2 separate regions of the Homo sapiens genome follow, and region 1 is linked to region 2. Evidence: promoter capture Hi-C in human tissues and cell types (Jung and others, 2019). All regions are on one chromosome and are shown on one strand. Each heading gives the region's core, a stretch centred on a gene start or on the middle of the fragment in contact. The rest is flanking DNA. Distances are from core to core; before and after follow the strand shown.

Region 1 (4,863 bases), core at 547-3,046, 850 kb before region 2:
GTGAGTGTGAATTTGATATATGTTTTGTCTTCTCAGATATTTTATCTCCTTTATTTGGGACGCTTGTTTCTTCAGCTCAGGTGAGTATACCTTTAAGCTGTTTTTTCTTTGGGTGAAAGTAGACAGGTAATTAAACAACTCCATAAGAAAATATGAGAGGCATAGTTTGGGGATCTCAGTCCTGTTCAAAGACTGAGATGGCACATACCTGGAGGCTGGCTCAAGTGCCACAGTAATGAGATCCATGGCCATCAACATAGAATGGGGATGTCACTATCAGGAGAGCATTTGACTCAAGTCAGCCTCCGCTGGCCAAGAAGTCACTTTGGACATTCCAGCTTGAAAGACTAGAATGGGACACTTCTTTTGGGGATACTGATTAACTCATGGGACTGAGTTAACTCTGGTGCATAGAGTGGTGAGGTATGGATAGAGTGGTGAAGGCCAAGTCAAGTTTGATTTAATTTAGAAAAATGTGAATTTTCATGTTCAGTGGCTCCTTCCTGACTGAGCTAGTCCCTTTGTCTTGATAAATCATGTAATGGTCCAGACCCACAAGTAAGTGGTCCAAAGGGCCCTGTCCCTGAAGAAAGGCAGGCTTCCTTTATGTTTGGTTTGGCATTGAAAGTCCTGGTTTCCATTTGGAAGGTGGGGAGCATTTGCAAATGCCCTGTTAGCTCGACTGAGTTACTAAGTCCAGGATTACCCAGGTATGGGGAGGAGCCTCCACGGGTAAGACCAGTACAGAACTTGCATTTAAGATGTAATTGTTAGAAGCCTAGTGAATGTCTGGTCCCAGGTGGCTGTGTACAAAGCTAGCTAATAAGTTAGCCTGAAAGGAAATGTTCTTTTCTGAAAGTCCTGGGATCTTTGTCTCCAGTATCTGTCTTTTTATAATCACCTAGGGGAAAAGGGATAAATTTATAAATCCTTTTATTTAAATTAATCTCAGGGCCATTAGACATAATGTAATAACACCCTGCGGACAAGTACAGATGCTGCCAAAACATGCAGAGATAATTTCCTGGGAACCTGTTATCTCATGTACTTGGCTCCATTTAGGTTCTTTTAACCATGCATTTAAGATAAATTATAGGTTTGTTAGTATTGCAGCATAACCCTCCAGGTTTATAAATAATACATGTAGTGTATCACTATTTTAGAGTTTCCTTAAATGTAATAACTAAACAATTCTCCTTATGAACTGTTTGGCAGAATTACCTATGGCTTAGTTACTCTTCTTTTCTCCCATCTAGTTTAACTACTGCTTTGACGTGGACTGGCTCGTAAAACAGTATCCACCAGAGTTCAGGTGAGTTCCTCAGGGTGACAGACAACACTATAAACTGTAAAGGGGCTTTGACACCTAAGATTTGTATTTCTCAGGTGAAAGCCACTCATCTTTTGAGTTTTTCTTTTGAAACTGTTGAAATCACACAGACATTAAGTTATATCCGGAAAACAGCATTCTTTGATCTATTTAATCCTACACATTCTTTTTACGGATTTTAGCATTTTCCTCTGTGCTCTTTCAGGAAGTAGATAAGGACAGGCTTTAACTCAAATAACAGAATTTCATGTCCAGTCTTAATATGAAGGAAAATACCATCTCCACATACCTTCTAGATCTGTGAATGTGCCAACATGCCGCCAACGTGCCATGCTTTCCGTAGCACATCAATTCTGTTCTGTTTTGAGGATCCCTTTGTGTTTCTGAGATGAGGAAAGGAGGCTTATCTGTGGCCTTCCCTTATCTAGGCTCTGGAGGTGATGGATTTTTAGGCCTTCTGCCTGCACTTCATCAGCCTCATGTTAGGCAATACAGACCAAATAGGGCATCACACAGGTGCCACCCTTCCCTATTTCTAACACATTTACGGGGCAGATTCCCATAACAGCAAGTAGGATGGAGGAAAACACACAAGAAATAATGATTGTCAGGGTCCTCAAAATTCTTGGTACATTTAGGGCATCAGATTGTGGAAACCTTTGACATTAACAGTAGATAAAATGCTGTTAAAATTTTTCAAGCAGCTTTGGCACTTGGGGCTTTTTTTTTTTTTTTTGACCTGTAACACACAGAATTAGTTTTAGCTGCATGTAAAAGAATATTCAAAATAACAATGGCTTAAATAAGACAAATTGTTTCCAGCGTGACACATTCAGATGGTAAACATTTATGGTCTAGATGGGGGCACCAGGGTTCTCAGAGACTTATCCACCTACCCTTTCTGTTCCACCATCCTTGTATGTGACTTCAGTTTTCAGAGTCACCTCGTGGCCCAGTATGGCAGCTAGAGCTCCAGCTTACTCATCTATTCCAGGTAGCAGGAAGGGGAAAGGAGGAAAAGGACAAAAAGGCCCACATTCTAGCTATGCCCATCTAAGCAGCCTTCCTGGAAGTCCCACACAACACCTGCATCTATTTCATTGAGCAGAGCTCAGCTGCATGCTAACCAGCTGTAAAAGAGGCTAGAAATGTCTTTTAGCTTAGCACACCTTTTCCTGAATTAGCCTTTTGTTAGGGAAGGAGGAGAGAATGGCTGTCTGGAGGCAACAAGCAGTTTCTGCCTTGGCTCCTCCTCGCAGTAGTATCCTTGGGTGTCACATTGGCATTTTCTGTTCTTCCTCCCTTTTCTTAAAGACCTTGAAATCAAACTGTCACCCCATTAGAGTGTTGGCAAAGTGCAGACTGCAGTTCCTTTGTATCTGTTATGAGTTAAATTATCTCACCCCCAAAAAAGATCTGTTGGAATCCTAAGCCTCAGTACCTCAGAATGTGATCTTATTTGGAGATAGAGCCCTTACAAAGGTAATCAAGATAAAATGAAGGCATTAGGATGGACATTAATCCAGTATGACTAGTGTCCTTATAAAAAGAGAAATTTGGGTGCAGAGACAGAGATAAGACCATGTAAAGACACAGAACGCCATTTACAAGCCAAGCTCCTAGAAGCTGGGAGAGAGGCTTGGAACAGATGTGCCTCACAGCCTCAGGAACCAATCCTGCCAGCACCTTGATCTTGGACTTCTCGCCTCCAGACCTGTGAGACAATATATTGCTGTTGTCTAAGCCTCCCAGTTTGTGGTGCTTTGTTTTGGAGGCCCTGGCACACTAATACAGTATCCACTGGACTCTCAGTAACTAAAGGGACGAAAGTGTCCTCCTTCTCCCTGCATCCCCTTATTGCCAAATGCATCTTGGGAAGGCTATTACGAGCCTTAGAAGGATGAGGAGTGACCTAAATGGTAAGTTTAAGTAACATCCAGAATTTGTATGTAGAAAAATTCAGATCATAAGGATTTATACCTCAGTATGCTATTGTTCAGGTGCCATCTTTTTGTAATAAGTCGTAGAACCAATAAATTTGAAAGAATTAATGAGGACTTCAGTTTCTATCAGTCATATTTAATCTTTTTAATAACATGACTTGATCTAACATTTTTTATTTCTAGGTGCTAGATGCACGTGTGTTTCTTACATTATTCTGTTTTTCTTACCTAATTTCTAAAAATCACAGGTGCGTGTTTCATAGTTTCATTTTACCTGTCATGTTAGAATAAAGCTATTGGGCAAGAGGTAGTGAGGTATTAGTACTGGAAATAGATGTTTCTCTCTAGTTGATTGTTGTTCCTTTGTGAATGGTAGAGAATCATTCTGCAGTGTGATTGATAAATGTGGAAGTGGGTCGGTTGTTTATCTTTCTTGATTGCTTATATCCAATTTTTGTTGTGTTGGGAGAGCTTGTAGAAATATACTTATTTCTTTTTTTTTTTTTTTTTTGAGGCGGAGTCTCGCTCTGTCGCCCAGGCTGGAGTGCAGTGGCGGGATCTCGGCTCACTGCAAGCTCCGCCTCCCGGGTTCACGCCATTCTCCTGCCTCAGCCTCCCAAGTAGCTGGGACTACAGGCGCCCGCCACTACGCCCGGCTAATTTTTTGTATTTTTAGTAGAGACGGGGTTTCACCGTTTTAGCCGGGATGGTCTCGATCTCCTGACCTCGTGATCTGCCCGCCTCGGCCTCCCAAAGTGCTGGGATTACAGGCGTGAGCCACCGCGCCTGGCCGAAATATACTTATTTCTAAGGATTATCTTGCTTTGAGTTAATCAGAACAAGAATCCCTCAAAAGCCTTTTTAATGTATTCTTGAAGAGTGTTTTTATATTATATTTGGAATTCAAAAATATAGCATTTTCAACGTAGCTTGGGCTCTGTTTCATTGAAATCTAACCACCCATTAGTGAAGCTGCGTCATGCTGTGGGCCTGGCCTGGGCCTGTTCTCTGTTGTATCCTGGGTCTAGCTCAGTACATAGCACACAGGAGGAGTTTGGTGAATATAGATGTGGTGTGAAATGAATCCACCGTGTGGTCCAAAAGAAAAAGCAAAAAGCACTATATTATATAATAATTATTATATATCTTTAATTTATTTGGACTTAAATATTTTAACACAGAACTACTTATGTGCCGTTTTGGGCCAAAGAAGATAATTATTCAAGGACTTTCTTGAGTCATTACCCCTCTGTATTACAACAGAGCTGCAGAATCAGGCCATGTAGCCCCATTATAAAGGTATCTGGTAAATGAACATTAGCTTTTCACTGCTCTGTGTTAGCCCTGTCTTCATTCAACTACAAAGGCCGGAAACATATCGAGTGATAAGGAAGCTAGCATTCCTTAATGAGGCGAGTCCAGCTTCATGAATGATGTATTTTAATTAATTTATTTATTTATTTATTTATTTTTGAGACAGAGTCTTGCTCTGGCACCCAGGCTGGAGTGCAGTGGCTCAATCTCGGCTCACTGCAACCTTCACCTCCCAGGTTCAAGCGATTCTCATGCCTCAGCCCCAGAGTAGCTGGG
Region 2 (5,130 bases), core at 2,302-4,801:
TCTGAAAGTGTCCACTATTTAGAGTCCTTAACGGGGAGGGGCTGCCACGCTTCCTTCCCGTAAGGAGCTAATGCTGCTGGGTGGGGAAGCCCACTACAAGTGGGAGCTTTGGGAAGGAGGGATTCCTCTGCTCAGAACTCTCCCATAGCCCTGTCTCACTCACAGGAAAGCCAAAGCCTTACCCTCGGCCTATCAGGCCCCGCCACTTTCTACCCATGAAGTTCCCTCCCTAGAACATGCTTCTCCACCTCCTTAGGTCTCATCTCAGATGTTGCCTTCTTGGGGACACCTTTCAGGGCCACCCTATTTAAACTAGTAGTTCCTGCAACCCCCACTCCCAGCCCACTCCAAAGCACCTATTCACCTTCCCCTTTTTCTCTTTGATAGCACTGACCACCATCTGACACCCTGTAAACTTTACCTAATGATTATATTGATTATCTGTCTCCCTGCCCCTTTCCTACTGGGATGTGAGTTTCATAAGGGCTGAGATTTTTGCCATTTTTGTCTGTTTTGTTTACCAGTGTATTTCCAGTGCCTAAAACAGTGGCTAGCACAGAGCAGGTACTCAATCTTTGTGGAAGGAAGGAAGGAATGAGTGGCTGGCCCTGAGAGACATTAGCTACTTTAACCCTCATAACAACCCCTGCAAGGTAAGTCATTTAAATCCCGTTCTAAAATGAGAAAACTGAGGCTCAGAGTGGTTAAGTGATTTGGCCAATGTCACAAAGTCAAGAAGTGGCCAAGGTCACAAGAATCAGTCCCCCATCTGGCTGGCTCCAAACACTGTATTCTTTTTTTTTTTTTTTCGCCTGTGGTTGTTTTCATGGTAACTGTCTTAGTGTGACAAACGTGACATTCACTTGCTTTCCTTATTCTAAGCAGAAGATGCTTTAACTTCAGGATTTTGCAAAATCTGCCCAGAACTTGTGCTCATGCACCCGAGAATCTATGGGGGAGCCGGTGCCCCCAAAAGCCAGGAAGAAGTCCCTCTACCAGCCCGAGAGTGGGAAGGCCTCACCAGTCAAACGGAGGGAAGGCCCCTCTTGCAAACACCAAAGGAGAGCCACAATCATTCTAGTTTAGTTTCATCTTTTTCTTGGCTTCATCGTTTTATTTTCCTGAGCACTCACTCTGTCTGATCTTTTCAAGTCCGGGTAACTTTTTGCCATCAATGGCTACCACTCACCATGTGAGTCTCTAGGACAAAAATCTATGTCCCATGAGTTTCCCCAAACTGAACTTGCACACAGACCCATGGACCACAGTGCCCCCGCAAACCCCGATCCCCAAGCCCCACTCATGACTGCATCTTAGGACATTGGGAGCAGCCCCTGGGAAGAGAGCTAAGCCTTTCGGGGGCCATGAAGGTGAATAGGAAGGGCCCAGGCCACCAAAAACCCATCTACCCTCTCATTCCAGGGACCATCATAGCTTGAGTCCCCCTTCATCTGCCTGTCATTCTCAATCACATTAACTCATCTGTTTTGTTTCAATCACTTCTCACTATCTGAAGCTGTGCTGTTTATTTATTTCCATATTTGCTTATCACCTGCCTCCTGAGAGCAGGGTGAGGGCATAAGGGCAGGGGCTTGGTCAGTGCTGTTCACCACTGTTCTGTGACTGGCACAGGTGGGCACGCAAATATTGGGTGAATGAATAAGCAAAGACAGCAGGAAACAAGTGGATTCAGAAGAAAAAAGACCAGGAGGCTCACAAATAAACCCATTTAATCCTAAAATCAACCTGCACAGAAGGTGTCATTATGCCTACACCGCTGGGAAGCCACAAAGTAGACCCAGGACTGTGCAACTCCGAGAGGAAAAGAGAAAATGCTGCAGGTAAGCGGAGAAGCAGGTGAGCCCGACACGGAGGGCAAAGGCAAGCTGCCTCTGGGGCCCAGGGCACTGAACACCATCTCCTCAAAGGCTGACATAACTGAGAAGGGTCCACATTTTCCACCAAGTGGAGCCCGTGTAGGGTCGGTGCTATCTCCATGCCCCTGACACACCATGGCACCTGCGTTCACCCAGAAGGTACCTGCCCACAGCATGCATCCATCATTGAGAGTGCGCAAAACCAAGTTCTAATTTCCAGGCACTAATACCATAGGACACAAACATAAACCACCCTCCAGGAGGACACCTGACATCCCTCTCCTTTCTGGGTAGTCTGAAGTGAGAAGGTTGAAAATAGTGCAGATGTCCTTTCTTAGAGCAGCCCCGCCATCCATTCATTCACTCTTTCATTCATTTGTTCAGCCAACATGTGCTCACTGGGCCTGGGGAAGCCCAGGATGAAATGAGACAAACCCTCTGCCCTCTGGCCACGGTGTGCTGGTGCCTGCGCTTTAGGCGGGTACTAAAAGACAAGCAAATATTAAAGATACTCGCTTCCAAAACAAATAAGGCCACGTGGAGCTGTGCACTGGAATGGGATTCTGGATGCAATTTTATTTGATTGGGTACAAGAACCAATCCAGTTAAAGGGGTCATGAACCAACTCCAGGCACCAGGCTCCTACTCAGAGGCTGCCTCAGACCCCCTTCTGGCCCAGGCACCAACCCCTCACCCACCCAACTCCATCTCCCGACATTCTTCAACCACATTCCCATCTCGCTCCACAATATTCTCCCTCCAGGTCCCCCTGACTCTATTTCTCCTCTATTCCCAACCCTGACCTCTCTAGGTCGGCAGCCTTGATGCTACTTCTCCGAACGCCAGGACGCACATCCCAGCCTGCTTTCTACCACCACCCCACACACCTCGAGTCTGCGCTTCCACCCAGAACCCCTTAAACACCATATGTTTACAAACCAGATTCCCCAGGGGTCTATGTACAACACCCCATTCTCAAGACCCCATAAACACATCCTGATTCCCTGAGCACACCATACACACACTGTGGACTTCACCCATGTCCTGAGGGACCCCCTCACCCCATCACCTCCAACTTCTTGGAAGCCCCAGGCCGGCCCCTGACCTCCTGTGGTCCCAGTGGAGCAGCGGACTCGCTGAGACCCCCGGACACCCCAGACTCCGCAGAAGCCCGCCCTGCACGCTTGAACCCCAGGCGCCGGGACAGCCCCTGGCGCCCCCCCGGGCCCCCACACCGCGTGACTCCGGGGCACCCGGGCTCCCCCAGGCCCCGGTCCCGCGCACATCCCCTGGGCCGCAGCTCCCTCGCGGCCCGGCCGCGCCCCTGCCCGCGCCCCGCGCCCGGCCGCGCCTCGGGGGCCCGTTCCCGCGGAGGCCGCGGCGCCCCCCGCAGCCCAGGCCGGCGCGCCCGGAGCGTACCGTTGGCGATGAGCTTGGCCGACAGCTGCTTGACGAGCTCAGGGATCCGCTCCCACTGGCACTCGGAGCGGCAGCGCTCGATCTCCGTCTCCAGCCGCGAGCCTGCCTTCTTGGTCGCCATCGCGGCCTGGCCGGGCCCGGCCGCCCGCCCCGCAGGCCCCACCGCCGCCGCCGCGGCGCCCCCTCGCCGCCTCCCGCCGCCGCCGCGGGCTCGGGCTCCGGCTCCCGGCTCCGCGGCGTAACGGGAGCGCCGGCTGGGGAAGGGGCGGGGAGGCGGGCGGCGGCGGCGGGCGCGGCGGGGCCCCGGGCGCCGCGAGGAGCGGCCCCTGCCGGCCAGGGCCGGAGCCGCAGCACTGACCGGGGCCGGAGCCAGGGCTGGGGCAGGGGCGGGGGCTAGGGCGGGAGACAGGGGCCCGAGGGAGGAAAGGCGGGGTGGGCATGGAGGACAGGGAGAGGGACTGGGGGTGTCTGGGGCGGGGTGAAGACCGAGGGGAAGTGGGGATGGGGGTGGGGGAGCGGGGTAGGAGAGAGATCTGACCAAGGGCGGGTGAGGGGTCTGGTGGGGTAGGGGTCTGGGCAGGATGAAGGGGAGGGAGAGGATCGGGAGGGAGCTAGCGACAGCCTGGGAGCGGGTTGGATCCCCAGGAGTAGGGCCAAGAAAGGGCAGTGACCCTGGGGAAGGTCACCGCCCGGTGGGACCAGTGAGCCAGGTGTGAGGGGTGGGGGGAGGCCTGCCCGAGTTTGTCCTGCCATCTCAGGTGGCCAGCGGTTCCCTGGGGCCCGGTTGGCCTGTGCCCCTTAGCAGATGCCCCTCTGCCCCGCAGCCTTAGCCCCTACCCAGCCAGAGGTGGACGGAGACTCCTCCATCCCAGGCAAGGCACAGCACCTGCCAGGGGTGCCCTAGATGGCTGAGCGGAGCCAGGCAGGGGCTGCCACTCTCACACGCCAGCTCTCGGACCCCCTGAGGGGAAGGCACAGTCACTGGTGGGGCCTCCTGTCTTGGCCACCTAGACTGAGACCTAGGGAGGTGTCCCTCTGTGTTCTCTCAGTGAATCAACTGTCTAGTGATCACCTACTATGTGCTGGGCGCTGCTTTAGGTGCCAGAGATAGAATTGTGAGCTAAAAAAACAAAATTCCTGGCTTGAGAGAGCTTACATTCCAGTTTGGGGGAAAAATAAGCAAAATAAAATAGTAAACTAGACTGTAAAAATGGCTATTTGAAGAAACAGGGAAGGGTTCAGTGAGGAACATAAAGAGTTGGGACAGGCGGGTGGCTCATGCCTGTAATCCCAGCTACTCAGGAGGCTGAGGCAGGATGATTGCTTGAGCCCAGAAGGTGGAGGCTGCAGTGAGCAGTGAACGCACTTCAGCCTGAGCAAGTGTTGCCATTTAAAATGGAGCAGTCAGGGATGGCCTCACGGAGGTGGCATTAGACTTGAAGAAACTAAGGGGGAGCCATGAGGATATCTCTGGGGGAGGAGTATCCCAGGCAGAGAACACCACAAGTGCGAAGGCTCTGGGGTTAGAGCACACTGGGTGGGATGGAGAAATGGCAGAGGCCAGAGGGGCTGGGTGGAGCGAAGGAGAGGGGCCGAGGCAGGAGATGAACTCTGAGAGGTTGGGGGGAGTTCTGTGTAGTGCCTGGTGGGCCATTATAAGACCTTGGCTTTTGGCTGGGCACGGTGGCTCACGCCTGTAATCCCAGCACTTTGGGAGGCCGAGGTGGGCGGATCACGAGGTCAGAAGATCGAGACCGTCCTAGCTAACATGGTGAAACCCGTCTCTACTAAAAATATTTTTAAAAATTAGCCGGGCGTGGTGGCAGGCGCCTGT

The links. The method cuts DNA at HindIII sites, captures the fragments that hold promoters and counts their contacts. A contact is called where the count stands out against the background at its distance.
Region 1: a fragment that was not itself captured here is called in contact with the fragment with the promoter of TTC7B in region 2 in 1 of the 25 tissues and cell types used here (dorsolateral prefrontal cortex).

The regions. Positions count from the first base shown.
Region 1 is chr14:89,966,111-89,970,973 of GRCh38, forward strand. It overlaps TDP1 (tyrosyl-DNA phosphodiesterase 1), which reads left to right. Exons shown (of 17, transcript NM_018319.4): 4 at 37-80; 5 at 1,257-1,312. Among named protein-coding and RNA genes, the nearest start is that of TDP1, 13 kb to the left of the region's middle. The HindIII fragment of the contact is 9,557 bases long and covers 1-4,863 here.
Region 2 is chr14:90,812,879-90,818,008 of GRCh38, forward strand. It overlaps TTC7B (tetratricopeptide repeat domain 7B), which reads right to left and starts at 3,552. Exons shown (of 20, transcript NM_001010854.2): 1 at 3,297-3,552. The coding sequence starts at 3,417. RefSeq lists a silencer at 3,546-3,725. The HindIII fragment of the contact is 18,929 bases long and covers 1-5,130 here.